3 separate regions of the Homo sapiens genome follow, and regions 1 and 2 are each linked to region 3. The links are contacts of gene promoters, found by promoter capture Hi-C in blood cells and fetal thymus (Javierre and others, 2016). All regions are on one chromosome and are shown on one strand. Each heading gives the region's core, a stretch centred on a gene start or on the middle of the fragment in contact. The rest is flanking DNA. Distances are from core to core; before and after follow the strand shown.

Region 1 (3,106 bases), core at 218-2,717, 330 kb after region 3:
TGTTTGAATTATACAGGAAACATTGTCAAGTGTGAAGTGGTGTTTAGCTTCCTTTGGGTTATACTGATAGAGATTTGTTGTTAATATGTGTTCCAGGATTGTATGAGAGTTCTAAAATTCTGATATGTCTTAATATATGTTGTAATGATTATGTTAAATTGTTGTAAGCCACAGAAATAGCCACATTTGTCAACTGTGTCTTTATGGCTGTCTTAAGACTTTTGTCATCCATAATTGATGTTTTGCTGTGATCCTTCTCAAAAAAAAAAAGTGACTTATAATCAGCTACAGTCCAAGGCTTACTTCTTTGGAGTTCATGAAAAGAACTCTTGAATGCAGGTTTCTGGTAACTTTGGAGAGTGTGCCATTGGATTAGACAGAAAACTTCCAAGGCACTAATTGAAAGGCTGATGTGTTCATAAAGATGAATATGAAGTAGAGCAGGAGTTGATTACATGGACTGAAATGAACTAATGGAAGACTGAAATAATTTGTATGGCTTTTGTTGTTTGAAATATTGCTACTTCTTTTTGTTTTTTCAGAGTCTGAATAATCTTTTTATTTTGAGCTATTTATAGCCTTGAAATACACTTTAAGTGTATTGAGTATTCTAATTTCTCCAGAATTTGTAAACTATTTATGAATATTCTTAATTCATGGCATTTGTCTGTATAAAGTTAATAACCACGTTTTCTTTTGTAATAGGGCACAATTGAAACCGGTTACTTTCTCAGGACTTTGACTGAAATGGCCTTGTGAAATGTTCTAGCAAAGCCAATCTAGGAGAGTCTATATGGACAATGATTCTTGTTGCACTTTGTGTGGGTAATCAGGCCCAGTATACGGGACTGAAGTTTATTTTGAAGTTAGGTCGGTTCTGCTGTGATTTGTCTTTGGTGGAAGTGGTAGACTGGAGACAGAAATATTGTATGTCCCTAAATTAATATAGCTCCCAACAACCAATCCCTCATTATACCTTTAACTGCAACCACCAGACACAACGGCTAGGAATAACAGCAGGGGTAGGAATGGGAGTTAGCGGGATTGCAACTTCCCTATCCTATTACCAACGCTTGTCCAAGGATTTTATGGAAAGCCTGGATAACATTGCTCAAAGTATTGTCACCTTACAAATTCAGATAGGCTCCTTGGCAGTGGTCGCTTTGCAAAATTGAAGGGGACTAGATCTCCTAACTGCTGAAACAGGTGGCTTATGTATTTTCCTAGAAGAAGAATGCTGTTTTGATGTCAGCCAATCAGGATTAGTAAGGGACACCACCTGAAAACTAGCTGACTGGGCCTCTAAAATATGACAACAGCTGGGGCACCTAAAGGGCACTAAGTTGGGTTTCATGGCTCCCTCCCTTGGCCAGCCCATTATTAATGATTATATTTGCCTTGGTTTTTGGACCATATTTGTTAAATCTTTTAACCAAATCCATTTCCTTTTGCCTAGAGACCACCAAGTTAGATGATCATGTGACAAGATTTCTAGCCAGTTTCAGGTAAAGACACCACCGGCCATCAAGAAGCTACCCTGTCTCCCCTAGACAAAGCAGGGTGAGAGTTACGTGATCTCCAGTAGGTAGGGACTGTGTCCCAAGTTAGCATGAAGCAGTTACAGAAGAAAGACCCTCAGTCTCTCAGCCTCCCGTAAAGATTTACGAGGATCACGTCTCTCAGGGGGAAAATGAGGCAGGAGAATAGGGTCTGGAGACAGGGAACCTAAGGCTGATTCACATTGACTTCCTAGAACTGAATCAAAAGGAAAACCCCACCTCTCCATACCTAAGTAACAAAAGGATCAGAGGCTACTCCCTTTGCAATCCCCTTGCCTTTTCTGCATTGCAGATGAAACATGAAAGTGCCTCTGATTGGTCCCCTCCTGCAACCAATCAGACTGGTCATAAGCCAAGTCCTCATTTACACAGGAGTATAACTTTGTAACTTCACTTCAGCCTCTGATTGGTCACTTTCTGCACCAATCAGACAGGTCACGGGCCACTACTTCATTTACACAGGGTGTACGCCAAGTAACCAATGGCAAACCTCTAGAGGATATTCATTGCTTTGTGCGTTTTGTTCAATTATTTGTCCAAAATGCCAAGAACCTGGACACCCTCCACCAGTAACAGTTTGACCAGTTATTTATTGTATTACTTAGGACTGCATTTGGCTGCATATAAGAGAAACCTGACCGAGGCCTAATTAAGCACAGTGTTTATTCTTCTCACTACCAAGAAGTCAGAGGTCAGCAATCCAAGCTGGTGTAGCAGCTCCTCCAGGCATGTCAGCAAGGAGCCAAGCTCTGAGTCTTTTTACTAACATGACCCAAAGCACATGGCTGCCTTCCTTATGCCTAAAAGTGGCTCTGGTACTCAGGTTTTATCTCTGCACTCCAAGTAGGATGAAAAGATAAGAGCAAAGGCTCATGCTTGCCAAGTCTGTCCTTTTGTAACAAAAAAACCCAGCAGCTTTATCAAGCAGAATTCCACCTGTATTTCTTAACTTGCCAGAGCTGAGTCTCATGGCCACCCTTAGCAGGAGTTGGGGAGGTATTTTTAACAAAGCACATTATCATCTCCCCCACCCAAAGTGGAGCTATTGCTAATGAAAAAGATACAATGAGATGTTTATGAAATTATCTGTAGCTATTAATGTCAGGTTTTTGAAATTTACTGACCTGGAAGAATACTCATAATGCAATGTCAAGTGAGAAGCAGGACAAAGAACATTTGCAATACAGTTGTATTTATAAAATTTTGTTTACACACACAAAAAATGTATTTTGCTTAGAAATATAATTTACATATATATACAACCACACAAGGGAAATAACAAAATGTTAATACTAGCTAATTTCTATAGAGTTGGCATTTTAAGTCAGAGGGGTATTGATGAATAGATGTAGTTTATTAAATTTTTTTCTCTATTTCCTAAACTTTCTATAAAGAACTTGTAGTATCTTTATAATAGGAAAAAAATGTGATTTTAATGAACACTCCATATACTTTCAAAGTAGACTGAATTCAAAATATTTACACTTACTCATTTTCGTCTTCGTTGTCAAAAGAAAGGAGGCTACTATTTTTAATTTGTTTTTGTG
Region 2 (3,212 bases), core at 141-2,640, 310 kb after region 3:
TTTAACGTTCACACTGTTAGGTGAGGGTCTCGTTCAGATAATTTTTTTAAAATGCACATTTTAAAACTTATCTTAAAAAAATCCACAAACCCAACAAAATATTTCTTTTTTCATGATGACTTATTCAGAAATTTGAAAGGCCAAAAGCCTTTTTGATGTATGTGAGAGCTTTCTCTGTCATATGGGGTCTACCAGTCATTTCAGCAAAGAGTTAAGTGAGGCCAAGGAGGCTTCCCTGGCAGCTTGGAAGCTTTGTGCAGCAGCCAAGCCGCGGGCTGAGAGAGGTGGATACTCATTTGTTTGTATATAAAACTTTCATTCCCAAAGTCTTAGATATCACATACAAGGAAAGATGATTGTGAAAATCAGTGATAAACTCAAGTATTTCTCGCCTGTTATGATTGCATTTGTTGTATCCGATTCTGCCTGACAGTATTTGCCACTTGATTGTCTAAACAGAGTTTTAACTGGTAGCAGGGTGAGCATTAATTATTCACATCTAGCAGCTGGCATAAATATGATTGTGTAGGCCCATGTATGTTAATGAGTCTTACAATAAAGCCTTTCGCTTGGAGATCTTCAGCCCTCCCTTCTTTTTGTACCATTTGTGAACTTCATTCTGGAATTGTGTGGCTTGGTAAGGTATAATGTTCTTTGCTTCTGAGGAACTGTGCTGAGGGCTTGTGCAGAGAGTGGCCCATCTAGAAATGTCTCTCAGGACCCTGAAGGCTCCCTTGTTTCCTTTTCCTGTTTCCAGTCGGGCTACAGCAACTGGGTCTGGATATAGCAACAGCACCCCCTAGTGTATTATAGGGTGAGCATGGGTTCCTGGTTAACTCAGTAAGGTGAGGTGTTCTGGCTTCATAGAGTGGAGTGTGAGAAACTGGCAACTTGGCATTTATTAAACAATATAGTTGAGGCTAAATATGCAACAGCAGCATGTCTTCCAGGTTTTGACAGCTGAGAAAGGAAGATAAAGACAGCAGGAAGATAGGGTTTTAGATTACTTTACAAGGATATGAAGGCTAAGGAGAGCCACAGGAGGGAATCAAGAGGTCACTGGGGAAGGGAGCTGTTCCAATGAATAGTTTGCTATTCTTCCAAAGAATCCAAATCTTGGCCATATGTGCAGAAAGGCCTGGCCACAAAGGCCTTCCATTGTTGGCTGAGACTGGAGACCTGCGATGGGGGTTCAAAGCCTTTTGTTAGATGTGAAACTGAAATTCCAAACACTCCAAGCAGTGACTTAAAGGCTACGAAAGTATAAATGACAGGTAGATATTTACCTCAGAACATAGTTTTGATTAAGGAAACTAGACCTTAAGAGAACAAAATGGGGGTGGGGATGGACTATAGAGAGAAGAAAAGAGGGATGCTTTCTTCATTTTGTTCATTTAACGAATATTTGCTGTTGAGCTGCTATTCAGTGCCAGCTTCTATTCTACATACTGGAAATACAGATGTGAATAAAACAGAGTTTCTCTCCTCATGCAGCTTACATTCTTTACAGTTGCCAATAAGCGGGTCACTACAGATCAGTTCTTATGTTTGTATTTTTGAAGTGTGATTTATTTACAGGCAGAATGTGATTTGAGGACATGGAAAGTACCCATCGTTCAAAATTGTTCCCCACCAACCAACCAGTTTTTTTCTGAAATTTCTCAACCAAAACCCCTTGTTAGTTGTTTTCTGAGAGGAGTAGTAATGAATCCAGTTGCTTTGACCTACACTTACTTCTAGTGAAAATGAATGACCTGATGAGACCTAGAGGGATGGGACACTGGGGGGTGGAATTACAATATTGGGACTAGCAAGCTGTAGCCTTGGTGAGTTTGTTTCAGGACCAAGTTTTCCTTATCTATAGAAGTAGCTGTATTCCTGTCAGGTCCCTTCTAGCTCTTATTCTATTTTGTGTGGCAGATAGCATCCAAGAAGATGTAGGACCGGGTGCGGTGGCTCACACCTGTAATCCCAGCACTTTGGGAGGCCGAGGCAGGCGGATCATCTGGGGTCAGGAGTTTGAGACCAGCCTGACCAACATGGAGAAACCCCGTCTCTACTACAAACACAAAATTAGCCGGGCGTGGTGGTGCATGCTTGTAATCCCAGCTACTTGGGAGGCTGAGACAGGGGAATTGCTTGAACTCGGGAGGCGGAAGTTGCAGTGAGCCAAGATTGTGCCATCGCACTCCAGCCTGGGTAACAAGAGCGAAACTCCATCTCAAAAAAAAAAAAAAAAAAAGAAGGTGTGTAGAGCATGGGGCACCCCTGGGACCCCTGGAAAATTATTTGGGGGTAGGAGTAGGACCAGATTAGACACTGAAAAAAAACATGGAGAAGGAACATGATTTGACAGTCAAATTTAGGCTATTTAAAAAAATATTTCTAGGGCATTTATTCTTGGGTTCAATTTCTGACTATAAATTATCTGGAAGGGAGGGTGATACTATGAATATGGTTTTTGCAGATTTTTTGGGAAAGCCCAGTTGGTTTTACTTTTGTGGGTCAAATTAGTTTTGAAGATTATCTATAAAGCTTTCAGTGATAGACCTGACCCCCAAGCCACAGCTGCTTAAATAGCTGTGTGCTGTGGATTTTCTTGTTGTGCAGTGTTTCCTTTTAACTTTCCTGTTCAGGGCAGAAACAGAGTAATGCAGGCCCATATTCTTTGAATCCTAGAGAGCAAGTGACCTACTTACTATTGTACCTGAAATATTCAACTAGAGTATATTTTAGGAAATACTTTTTCAGCTTTAAACATGACTTTGCTTCTGTGAATAAACACTTCAATCGAGAGACACTGACAGGTATTCTGGGCTGTTCTCCTGACCCGTTGTGTAACTTTGGATACTGTATGACTTTTCTCCTTGGAAAGAGGCAATGTAAAATCCATGGGTTTCTTTAGAAAAGACAATTTGTAACTACACCCTTATAGGTGCATGTGATGAAGATTAGTGAAAGTTTTCATTGGGTTTAGAAATTTTAGAAATGCAGGAGGCCGGGTGCGGTGGCTCAAGCCTGTAATGCCAGCACTTTGAGAGGCTGAGACAGGAGGATTGTTTGAGACCAGGAATTTGAGACCAGCCTAGGCAACATAGTGAGACCTCATCACTACAAAAATTATACAAAATTAGTCGAGAGTGGTGGCACACACTTGTAGTCCCAGCTACACAGGAGGCTGAGGTGGGAGGATCTCTTGAGTCCGGGAGGTT
Region 3 (3,125 bases), core at 430-2,929:
TGTGTCTTGATGGGGCTTTGTTAAATTGAATTTTAAAATTGTGTTTTAAATATACTTAGGGAAGTACAGAAAGGTACCCCAGAACAGGTTGTTTTATAAAGACAACAATAATTTCTGAATTATTTTCATTTCAGCTTTTTATATACTGTGTAGTCACAAAATGAGAGACCCTCCCCCACTCACCCCACCCTCACAGCTCCCCAGAGGAACAATAGCCATGAGCAAACAGTGCTTGCCTCCTGACCTTCGGGTGTTTCTCCTAAAGGCTAGCTCATTTAAGGGCAGCAGTCAGGGGCTTGCTACTCTTCGCAGCCCTGTTTCTTTTCTTGTGATGAGAAGAAACAAGCCCAGGCTGACAGCTGGCCAAGACTTGAACTAGAATGTTGAAGTTGAAAAGTCAAAATGGGTCTGTGTCAAAGGACTAGCAGAGGGGAAGGGACTGTCCTCCGGGGAGCTGAGGAGTGAGGATGGTCCTCACCTCGATCCAGCGATCAAATTCCCCAAGTAAATCCATGTAAAACATGAACTGTGGCCAGCACTTGTTAAGCAAGGAATATTAAAAATCATTGTCATTACTGCTGCTATTATTGTTACAGGCTTGTTCCAAGACTCTGGGTTTTGGCTCAGCTTGTCTAAATGGTCTTCCATCTTAAGGAATCAAGGGGTAGATTTTGGAACCACTAGCTCCATAGCCAAAGAAGGAGCAATCCAGCAACTTAGGCATTGATTCCGCAAGCCGTCCCAGAGCCTCTGTGTAGTCCTTACTTTCCCTAAATTGCCATGACTAGCTGGCTCAAGTTAGGCCTTTCTAATTTACCTGGACCGTTGCTGTCTCCTGTGCACGGCTGCGGGGATGAGCACCTTGTTGTGCGTTCCTCCGCTGGGCTGACGGAAATGGTTTGCAGCCAGACTGCTACGCCACGCGGTCTGGCATTTAGTCCTCAGAAATCTGATTTAGAGAACGTATACATTGCATCACAATCTAGATTTCAGAGGAAAGTTTTGGATAGAATAACCCAGACCCAAGTCTGGGTAATTTAAAGCCTGGGTGAAATGGGGCAGAAAGAGCCCAGAATATACAGGTCTGAATCTTGGCTGGGGTGATGTGGAAGACTGGAGGCGCCAGACGGCTGGCCTCCCTCCAAGTGTTTACCATGCTGGTGCCATGGGGCTGGGGCTGGGCAGTCCATGTGCTCATTCTTCCCTTCTCTTCTCCTCCTCCTCCCCCTCCATCTCTCCTCCTCCTCCTCATGTTTTCTATAGGCTAGAGAAACTCAGGAACTACTGACCCACAGGGAAGGCAAGCGGAGATATGAGACGGAGGAATCAAACGCTGCCCTGGTGGAGGACGCTGTGGGTTTACAGTGGATGATTTCCTCTGCCTATGAGATAAAAGGGCTGGCTCTGTACTTTGAACCCCAGCCTCACCCACCTCTGCCTGGGTGTGGCTCTTACTCTCTGGAAGACTTACTCAGGGGAGAGGACAGGACAGTGTGAGGCTTGAATCTCCAGGAAATAGAGTCTGTGGGCAGCCATTGACTCCGAGTCAATGAGAACAAGGTGTGCTGTTTCCTCTGTGCTGTTTCTTCCCTGCCCCACTCCCCGCCCCTTTGTCCTATGGTGCCCAGGCTGCCTGCACTGCCCAGATACCACAGGCCTTGCCAGGGACCTCCTGAGAGGTTTCTGAGGCTTGCAGCCAGTGGTCCCGTTAGTCTGCACGTCTCCGAGTTGCCCTCCCAGAGGAGAAAGCATATGCTGCTGGGACCGACTGCAGCTCCTCATGGATGCACCTGCCACCAGAAAATTGTTGTTCAGTCTGGGATTGCTTTCTCTTCCCAAAGCACAATCTCACATGCAGTCATGAGCCCAGTCCAGCCTCTGGGACAGAAGATTTCGTGCTTTTATAAACCAACAGCACTGCAGGTGCTGCACAAGGTAAGTGTCTCCCTTATTTCTTTCCCTCCCCGGAAGCCTCTGTATCAAACTAGGAGTTACCTTAATAGGGTCAAAGGAGGGTGTGGCTGTTTCACTTCCTGTTGTCAGCAGCCAAGTGTGCCTGAGGACAGAGGGTGGTGGGCAGGCATCCATTATGTGTAGGGAGGCAGGTATTGTACTGCTCTGGAACACACTGAGGAAGGGGGGTGCTCTGGCTTCCCTGACACCACCTCCCTGGTCAGGCTGCCGCAAGGCACCCAGATGTCAGTTGTCTTCCCACAACCTAATCATTCACAGCTGCTCCAGGGCCACACTTAGGATCTCTTTCCAGCGGTCCTCTTAGTCTGCCCCAGGGGCATGGCAAAGGAGGGCCTTTCATCCAGGGATCTCACACTCACAGAGACTTCACATTTGGATTTTTAAAAATTTATCTCTGAAGATATGCTAATAAGACTGAAAAGATGGAAATGATCATCAGCTTTAAACTTATGCCTGATTTTGGTACCAGGCCCATGAATTTTTAAGATTAATCCTGCCATTATCCCGTGAATAGGATGGTTATATTACCCTGTGCGTTTTTTTTTTAAAGCTTACACGTGTTAAAGCCTTAATTTATTAAATGTAAACTTCTAAAATATAGTATATCACAATTTTTGAAACCCTATTTGGGGATTTCTTCATTTTAATATACCTGAAGCCTCAGATAATGGGCGTGTCCCTGGTCTTTGTCCTCCAAGCGGCCCATTGGCCACTCCCCTCTTGATGGACTGTGGAGAGAAGCTGTTCCCTTTCCACGTGGTCATTTCAACTTCAGAAAAATCTCAGGTGCAATTGCCTGTTTCATTACAGCAGCTAGCCTATAATGAAAGAGGCCTTCGAAGCTTAGGCATGCCCAGTTTGGCCCCTTTCTTCATTTTACACACTGTTTTCTCCTCCCACAGGAAGGCTTCTCTCTACGGGGCTCAAAGCTACAGGCTCTCCACCATAGGGAAAATGGCCGACTAATATTCTTGAGTTCTTTACCCTTAGGCAATGGGGCTCAACTGTGACTGCACATTGGAATCAGTGGAGAGTTTTCCAAACATCCATCCGATGCCTGGGTTCTACCCCCACAGAACCTGATTTACTTGACCTGGGGTGTGGCCTGGGCATTGGAATTTTTTAAAGCACCCCACATGATTTTAATACAC

Evidence for each region. Contacts are between HindIII fragments. The CHiCAGO score rates a contact against its expected background, and 5 or more counts as called.
Region 1: a contact is called between a fragment that was not itself captured here and the fragment with the promoter of LINC02313 in region 3, in 4 of 17 cell types (naive B cells, naive CD4 T cells, total B cells and 1 more). The highest score is 6.2, in naive B cells.
Region 2: a fragment that was not itself captured here is called in contact with the fragment with the promoter of LINC02313 in region 3 in 15 of 17 cell types (naive CD4 T cells, non-activated CD4 T cells, total CD4 T cells and 12 more); the score reaches 31.5 in naive CD4 T cells.

The regions. Positions count from the first base shown.
Region 1 is chr14:32,268,811-32,271,916 of GRCh38, forward strand. It overlaps the pseudogene KIAA1143P1. Among named protein-coding and RNA genes, the nearest start is that of AKAP6, 59 kb to the right of the region's middle. The HindIII fragment of the contact is 6,403 bases long and covers 1-3,106 here.
Region 2 is chr14:32,251,475-32,254,686 of GRCh38, forward strand. No RefSeq gene overlaps it. Among named protein-coding and RNA genes, the nearest start is that of RNU6-8, 50 kb to the left of the region's middle. The HindIII fragment of the contact is 2,285 bases long and covers 249-2,533 here.
Region 3 is chr14:31,943,174-31,946,298 of GRCh38, forward strand. LINC02313 (long intergenic non-protein coding RNA 2313) reads left to right here and starts at 1,680. Exons shown (of 2, transcript NR_146544.1): 1 at 1,680-1,935. RefSeq lists an enhancer at 962-2,161. The HindIII fragment of the contact is 3,310 bases long and covers 1-2,522 here.